Linked DNA regions of Homo sapiens: region 1 is linked to region 2. Evidence: promoter capture Hi-C in 16 types of primary human blood cells and fetal thymus (Javierre and others, 2016). All regions are on one chromosome and are shown on one strand. The core of a region is centred on a gene start or on the middle of the fragment in contact, and the rest is flanking DNA. Distances in the headings are between cores, read along the strand shown. Region 1 overlaps VPS35 (VPS35 retromer complex component). Region 2 holds the start of C16orf87 (chromosome 16 open reading frame 87).

What was found. Contacts are between HindIII fragments. The CHiCAGO score rates a contact against its expected background, and 5 or more counts as called.
Region 1: a contact is called between a fragment that was not itself captured here and the fragment with the promoter of C16orf87 in region 2, in 1 of 17 cell types (neutrophils). The highest score is 6.0, in neutrophils.

The regions. Positions count from the first base shown.
Region 1 is chr16:46,658,629-46,662,846 of GRCh38, reverse strand. It overlaps VPS35 (VPS35 retromer complex component), which reads left to right. Exons shown (of 17, transcript NM_018206.6): 15 at 365-604; 16 at 986-1,129; 17 at 2,196-4,218. The coding sequence ends at 2,375. Among named protein-coding and RNA genes, the nearest start is that of VPS35, 28 kb to the left of the region's middle. The HindIII fragment of the contact is 9,807 bases long and covers 1-4,218 here.
Region 2 is chr16:46,828,689-46,832,948 of GRCh38, reverse strand. It overlaps C16orf87 (chromosome 16 open reading frame 87), which reads left to right and starts at 1,769. Exons shown (of 4, transcript NM_001001436.4): 1 at 1,769-1,865. The coding sequence starts at 1,800. RefSeq lists a silencer at 1,423-2,072. The HindIII fragment of the contact is 5,874 bases long and covers 644-4,260 here.

The sequences.
Region 1 (4,218 bases), core at 1,522-4,021, 170 kb after region 2:
ACCTGTTAATATTATTGTTGTAATTGACTGGTGTTGATCATTTGCTGATGAAATCTAAGATTTCCAAGTGGGTCATGGTAAAAATGTTTCATGGAACATAAAATTCGGGAAATGCACTCAATTCCCAAAATCCAGTTTGGGAACCCTGGGTTAAACAAAGTTGAAAGAAGTTTCTTTATTGCAACTTTTTAGCGTTTTTACCATCTCAGTTGTGTCCTGTGGCTCTCAAGAGAGGGTGCAGCATGTTCTGATATGAAGGCTGCAGAAGTCTCACAGGATGGAGGTTTGGTGACAAGTACTTTGGAAAATGCTCAACTAGAGGATGGTTGGTCCTTGAAAGTCCTTTCTGCTTTATGTTCACTAGGCATTTTCTCTGTATGAAGATGAAATCAGCGATTCCAAAGCACAGCTAGCTGCCATCACCTTGATCATTGGCACTTTTGAAAGGATGAAGTGCTTCAGTGAAGAGAATCACGAACCTCTGAGGACTCAGTGTGCCCTTGCTGCATCCAAACTTCTAAAGAAACCTGATCAGGGCCGAGCTGTGAGCACCTGTGCACATCTCTTCTGGTCTGGCAGAAACACGGACAAAAATGGGGAGGAGGTAAGGTCATTCCTGACTGCATGATAGCAGACAGGATCCATAACAGGGATCAGTTGTCATGGCCTTGTGTTCTGGAGGTGAAACATTTGGGGTGCTTGGAAATCTGATGAACAAAATTGCTTTGTTTTGTTAAAAAAGAGAGTCTCATCCTGTAGTGAAGCCTCTGCTTTGAGGATATTGTAACATAGCAAGTTCAAACCACTACCTGTTTTTAAAAAAATACAGCTGTATACTTCAAAACAAGAAGAAGGAGAATGAAAAGGATTTAAATTTGTTATGTCCCTTTAAAACACGAAAGAGCCACGGTAGTGTTGTGTTTCTTTGTATGAAAACGAGATGTTTCATTAATCTCTTCACTGTCCCCCTGCCCTTTTATTTTAGCTTCACGGAGGCAAGAGGGTAATGGAGTGCCTAAAAAAAGCTCTAAAAATAGCAAATCAGTGCATGGACCCCTCTCTACAAGTGCAGCTTTTTATAGAAATTCTGAACAGATATATCTATTTTTATGAAAAGGAAAATGATGCGGTAAGTGAATTAGTAAAGTGTTGTTAATAAACTAATATTTTCCCTTCCTACTCTTAGGAGATTTGATATGTACAAAAGTTTATCATTCTGATACTTTAATCACTGTTCATTTGAAAAATGTAAAATAATTTACAGATGTCAAATAATAGGCTAATTTGTCATAATGTTCTAGTTTAAGATAATTCCTAGGCTGGGCGTGGTGGCTCATGCCTGTAATCCCAGCACTTTGGGAGGCTGAGGCAGGCAGATCACCTGAGGTCAGGAGTTTGAAACCAGCCTGGCCAACATTGTGAAACCCCATCTCTACTAAAAATACAAAAATTAGCTAGGCGTGGTGGCAGGCGCCTGTAATCCCAGCTACTTGGAAGCCTAAGGCAGGAGAATCGCTTGAACCTGGGAGGTGGAGGCTGCAGTGAGCCAAGACTGTGCCATTGCACTCCTGCCTGGGCAACAAGAGTGAAACTCCGTCTCAAAAATAATAATAATAATAATTCCTAAACGCAGTATCCTTTTAGCAATACAGTTTTGGTCAAGATTTGTAAGTTAAATAAAATTTTGCTTGTTTTTCTTTTTTTGACAGAGTCTGGCTCTGTCACCCAGGCTGGAGTGCAGTGGCAATCTCAGCTCATTGCAACCTCTGCCTCCCAGGTTCAAGCAATTCTCATGCCTCAGCCTCCTGAATAGCTGGTATTATAGGCGCCCGGCACCACGCCCAGCTAATTTTTGTATTATTACTAGAGATGGGGTTCCACCATGTTGGCCAGGCTGGTCTCAAAACTCCTGACTTCAAGTGATCTGCCCACCTCAGCCTCCCAAAGTGCTGGGAGTACAGGGATGAGCCACTGAGCCGAGCCAATTTTGCTTGTTTTAAAGGGTTGTTTTTTTTTTTTTTTTTTTGATAGTCAGTAATTGTTCAAACTAGGAATTGTATCCCCATCTTTCTTTTTTCATAATTACTCAGGTAATTGATGAGTGTAACAGAAGCTCCTCAAAACAGTTTTATTAAATTGCCTTTCATTTTTTGTGGTACGTGCTTGATCATGAATTTGTACATATTCTTTTGTAGGTAACAATTCAGGTTTTAAACCAGCTTATCCAAAAGATTCGAGAAGACCTCCCGAATCTTGAATCCAGTGAAGAAACAGAGCAGATTAACAAACATTTTCATAACACACTGGAGCATTTGCGCTTGCGGCGGGAATCACCAGAATCCGAGGGGCCAATTTATGAAGGTCTCATCCTTTAAAAAGGAAATAGCTCACCATACTCCTTTCCATGTACATCCAGTGAGGGTTTTATTACGCTAGGTTTCCCTTCCATAGATTGTGCCTTTCAGAAATGCTGAGGTAGGTTTCCCATTTCTTACCTGTGATGTGTTTTACCCAGCACCTCCGGACACTCACCTTCAGGACCTTAATAAAATTATTCACTTGGTAAGTGTTCAAGTCTTTCTGATCACCCCAAGTAGCATGACTGATCTGCAATTTAAAATTCCTGTGATCTGTAAAAAAAAAAAAAAAAAAAAACACAAAACCCACAAGCACTTATCTTGGCTACTAATGAAGCTCTCCTTTTTTTTGTTTGTTTGTTTGCTTCATTGTTGATTGTGTATTTTCTTCATTCCTGGGGAGTACTAACCCAAAAGCGTCTGTCTCTTGTTTTCTAGTCCAGTTTGAGATTAATTTAGAAGAAAGGAATACTGTATGTGAAATTCATCTTGGGCTTTCCCCTAAATTGCAAGATAAGGCCATGTGTAAGATTTTCCCTAAAACTAGAATATATTAATGCATGTTTGAGAATTTTAAAGCACCATGGTCAAAACCAGAAGCTATATTTTGCATATTTGGACTCAGCCATCCATTAAGAACCCATGTTGTCCTCTGGACATATTTATCAATATAATTGGGTTTTAAATAGTATAAAAGAAAACTTGTGATCTATATAATTTATGTATCACCTTCATTGTAAATTTAGCAGGAAATGCATCACAATTATGATTTTTTTTTTTGCACCAGTGAAACAATAAAGATGCTATTAACAATTTTGGAGCTTTTTTTCCCCTTTCATACTATCTTTAATTGATAAAAAGTACTAGTAGTATGGCTATAGAGTTTAATAGTCATTCTCATATATTCACAGAGCTCACTTAACTCTAGTTTTAAGCACTTGTTGAACAAGGCAGCATCTACTCTTTTAGTCATTTATACCCCTTTTCTTTCCTCAACTTTACCCTGCTTTTCCCAAGGCATGATGAATTCACATAAACCCCCCAAAGGCTCACCACCGATACTAGTTACCTACTATATAATAAACCATCCCAAAACTTACTGTCTTAAAACAGCAAACATTTATCTCACAGGTCTCTGGATCAGGAATTTGGGAGCAGCTTAGCTGGTGGTTCTGGCAAAGAGTGTGGTGTAAGGTTGCAAACAAGATACTGGTTGGGGCTGCAGTCATCTGATGCTTTGACTGGGGCTGACTTTTCTGCTCACTGACCTGGCTGTTAGGCAGAGGCCCCAGTTCCTCTTCTTGAGGGCAGAGGCCCCAGTTCCTCTCCTTGAGGGCAGAGGCCTAAGTTCCTTTCCTTGAGGGCAGAGGCCCCAGTTCCTCTCCTTGACGGCCCTTCCATAGAGTGTCCTCACAGCATGGTGGCTGGCTTTCCCCTGAGTATGAAAGCAAGAAGGAAACCACAGTGCCTTTCAGTGGCCTCCCTGTGGAAGTGACATGCTCATTTTTGCCTTATTCTGTAAGTGGGGAGTCACTAAGTCTAGCCTATATTCAAGGGTAAGGAGAATTAAGCTCCACCTCTTAAAGGGAAAATTTATAGACATTTTCAAATGACTACATCACTTAACCCCTCACCATCTGCCCTCCCATTGCTAGCACTTGATGACTAGCCCTTGCTGGGCTTTACATGAACAGATGTTTCCCAAAGTTATAAAATTAGTACCACTAAAATGTATCAAATGTTAAGCCATTCTGTGGTATGTCATAGTCCAGCAAACCCTTTCTGTTCTTTGTAGGTGTTAGTTTACCCCGTATAAACCTGATTATGGCTTGACATGTCCATATTATTTACATGTTTTGTG
Region 2 (4,260 bases), core at 520-3,019:
CACTGCAGCCTTGACCTCCTGGGCTCAGTGGATCCTCCAACTCAACCTCTTGAGTAGCTGGGACTACAGGCATACGCTGTCACCACATGGCTATTTTTTAATTTTTTGTGGAGACGGGTTTCACCATTTTGCCCAGGATTTTTAGCCCAATTTTAACATCAACGTGTGTACACTGTTTTTTAGACATAATGCTATTGTACTTTTAATATATTACAGTATAGTGGAAACATGTTTATTATATACACTGGGAAACAACAACAAAAAATTGAGTGTGGCTCTCTTTTTTGCAATGGCCTGGAACTGAACCCCCAGTCCCTCCAAGGTATGCCTGTAAATGGACCAAACAGGAAGCAATTTCGTGGGTTTCATATTAAAAGCTTTAAACATTTATATAACTGTTATTTATACAAAGTGTGCTTACAGGCATTTACTATGTAAAATTGTAACTCATAACTTTGCTTTAGTTAACAATTGTTGAATAAAAAGTTATCAGTGGAATAGCCAGTCTCTGTAATAAATGCATATTGGTAAATTTTCTCTGAGCCAAGTGTACAGTTTGTAAATTTTCTTTCTGTTATGTTTGTTCTGATTGTTTATTAAGTATAACTTTGGGTCTGTCAAATTAAATATTTAAAAGTAAGCTTACGTTTTGCATAGTTGTTTTTAAATTTCACTTTTTCTTTCTTTTTCTTTTTTTTGAGACGGAGTCTCGCTCTGTCGCCCAGGCTGGAGTGCAGTGGCCACAATCTCGGCTCACTGAAGCCTCAATCTCATAGGCTCAAGCGATCCTCCCACCTCAGCCTCTCTACTAGCTAGGACTCCAGGCATGGGCCACCACGCTCAGCTAATTTTTAAAAATCTTTTACTTTTTGTAGAGATGGGGGTCTCGCTATGTTGCCCAGGGTGGTCTGGAACTCCTGGGCTCAAGAGATCCGCCCTCCTCGGCTTCCCAAAGTGCTGGGATTACAGGCGTGAGCCATTGCGCCCAGCCTCGAATAATTTAATTTTAATGTTAATTTAGTAAGTATCAGTCACGGACAGATTGGAAAAAGAAAAACATCTGATCCCTCATCTTGATAGTGAGTAGCACTGGTTTACACAGCTAGGCTGCTCCTTGAAGGCTGACACTGCATTTTATTCAAATTTTCCTGACAGTGGGACTTAGGCAATTATATATTGAATAAATAAATGAATTTTCACTCTGCTGCTGGGTCCAGTGGTCTCATAAAATGTCTATCATAATTTCTCAATGATTAGCCTTGGTAACATCTACTTAAGTTTATTAAATGCCAGGATCCACGCTACGCCCTTCACCATTCATTCCCCAGCCTTCGCTCCCACGGTCTCTGTGGGGATGGGGCGTGCCCAGCACTACGGCCCGCCCTACCTATGCATTCGTTGGTCGAACTCGACGCCCGTTACTGCCGAGTCCCGCCCAGGCCTTGCCCCCTCGTAGTCGGCCAGGCCGAGAGGAGGCGTGGCCACTGCCGCGCCGGGGCGGTCTGGCGGAGGGGGGGGAGGTCTCCCCTCGTCTCGTGATACTCTGGGCGAGCTCGCGGGCGGGCTGTGGGTCGCGAGCCGCCGTGGGAGCGCGTGTCGCGGTCCCCAGGAGCCGCCGGCCGACGCTCCGCCCCGCCCCCTTGGCGCCCAGGTCCCGCGCGAGCTCGCGCACGCGCGCGCGCGCACCCGCCAGAGGCTTGTTTGAGGCCCGCGGGGACTGGGCGGGCGGAGGCCGGGCTGCCGAAGTGTGAGGGGAGGAGCCCGAGCCGTCGCTGCTGCCGCCGCTAAGGGAGAGGAGCATGTCTGCAACTCGAGCCAAGAAAGTGAAGATGGCCACCAAATCATGCCCCGAGTGCGACCAACAGGTGGGTGCCGGGGGCCGGGCGCGCGGGCGGGCGGCAGTGGCTTGGCGGCCGTTGTCTGTGGAGGGGGGCCTCGCCGGGCTCCCGGAGGCCGAGCGGTGGGCAGATCCTGGGGCCCGCCGGCGGCGGCGGGGATCCGGGGCCGGTCGGGCTGCACCGAGGGGTTTCCCGGGAAAAGCCCGGGGCCGTGGCCCGCCAGCGTCCACCTGGCGGCGGCCAGACGGCCAAGCCCCTTCTTGCTGTGTCCCGGCCACTGGAGGAGCGCGCCTTTGGTGGGCTCACCGGGCGGCTGTCTGGAGCCCCAGACTCTCCTCGCCGGCGGCGGTGACAGCGGTGGGAGCCTGCGGGCCGCAGCCCCGGCGAGAGTGTGCCGCACGCCCGCCTCCGAGGCCAGGCCCTAGCTCCGAGAACCCCTCCTGCGGCCGGGGCGGCTTTGTTCCCGGTTCCGACGGGTGCGGGGCTTCCCCAAAACGGCCCCTCCGCGACCGGGGCGGGCGCCTGAGTGGGACAAAGGGGGCCGCGTGTAATGATTTTGAGTTTCGGCGAATTTGGAGATTTTTTCCCCTTCCTCATCTATTTATTATATTTTTGCTGTGCAATCGCGAATCCTGCCTTTACATCGTTTTTAATGGGTCATGATTGAATAAAGCCCCTGTTTAAGCCCTTCCTCCTTTTTGGGCGCTCCTAACTTCCCCACCCCTCGCAGTATCCACTGTTACAAATTTGGCCTGTCTGCTTCCAGATCTGTATCCCTGTCTGTCTGAATGTCTCTGTGTGTCTCTCTCTCTCTCTCTCTCTCTCTCTCTCTCTCTCTCTCTGTCTGTCTCTCTCTATCTCTCTATCTCTCTATCTCGTTTCTTGAATTTGAAACGATTCCTTTCTACATTGAGTTCATGGTGTAATAGTTGTAATTTAAAACATCTCATTTCAGTGATCGCTGTGTTGAAGCGTGTCTCAATTCTTTACTGGAATAATAGACATTCCTTTAAGCCTTAACATCTAATGAGTTAAAACTACTTCAGTTAAAACCATTCGTAAGGCCCTCGTTTGTTACCAACATGTAGATCTGGGTGTGTTTTTTCCTTTTCCACTGAGTGGATTTTTTCAAAATGACTACCTTTCTCTCCTCCCCTCCCCCCACCGCCTTTTTTTTTTTTTAAATCAAGAGTAATTTGAAATGGCTGGAGACTTTTTAATAAGCTGATTTTAGTGCATTTTTCAAGGAGAATTCTTGTAGGTTTTTCAAATCTTTTAACAGAAAACATGTTACATGTTTTATTAAGTATCCTTTATGGGCTGTAGTAAAAATGCTTATCAGAAAAAGGTTGTGCAAGAAATACAGTGTAGGAGCTATACCAGTATGCAGTATAAAAACAGTTTAGTCATGTTTTCCAAAGAGTTACTTTCATTCTTACTACTGAACTAAATTTGTTAAATTTTGACAAAACTGGACTTTGCAATATGACTCTTTGCGGGAGATTATTTCAGTGTTTAAATCATTTCCAATTATTCCAGTTAATTGTGTAGAAGTGTAAGGTTTACATGGTATGCGTTATGCATTCCAATTTCTGTAAGGCACAAGTATTTGCAAATCCTGACTTTGTTCTAATTGGCATAAAGCAACCTTTTGGGAAAAATAGCCACTTTTTATGGCTATTTTTATATAAAAGAGCAAAGGATAATAAACTTATAGGAGTTTCTGAAAAACTGTTCAACAAAACAAGATCAGCGTTTTATTTGGAAAGATCACATTCATTTTGTTATACACCCCCTCCCCCATATTTATTCTTTCATATAAAATCAGCTTACCCAGCTTTGGCTGCCATAACAAAAGCATGATTATGTTCTGGTGAGGGCTCTCTTCTTGGCTTGCAGATGGCTGTCTTCTTGGTGTCCTCACATGGCAGAAAGAGGGTCAAGCTCTCTCCCTTTTCTTAAAAGGTCCCTAATCACATCATGAGGGCCCCACCCTCATGACTTAATTTAAACCTAATTCTCTCTCAAATGGCCCATCTCCAAATACCATCACATTGCGGTTAAGGCTTCAATATATGAATTTGGATGTCGAGGGGTGCATAATTCCACCCAGAGCAAACTAGTACATAATTTAATGAGTTGGTTTGTTTTGTCCTTTATTCCAAATACTTAAGTGAATGTAACATACATAAGGACTAATTAAAACTTTTGGTGATATGAACCTGATGTGAAAAAATAATGGATGAATTTTAGCTTTCTCATTATTTAAAAGTACTAGCTTCTTTTAGTTATAAGCCAGAATATGATTATAATCCAGAAAGCCATTTTCTAAACATTAGAATACTGCTATGATTCTAAGTTGCCTAAAAAAAATTAAATTCGAATTTAGGTATAGTTTATAAACATAAATGTAAAATCTTTA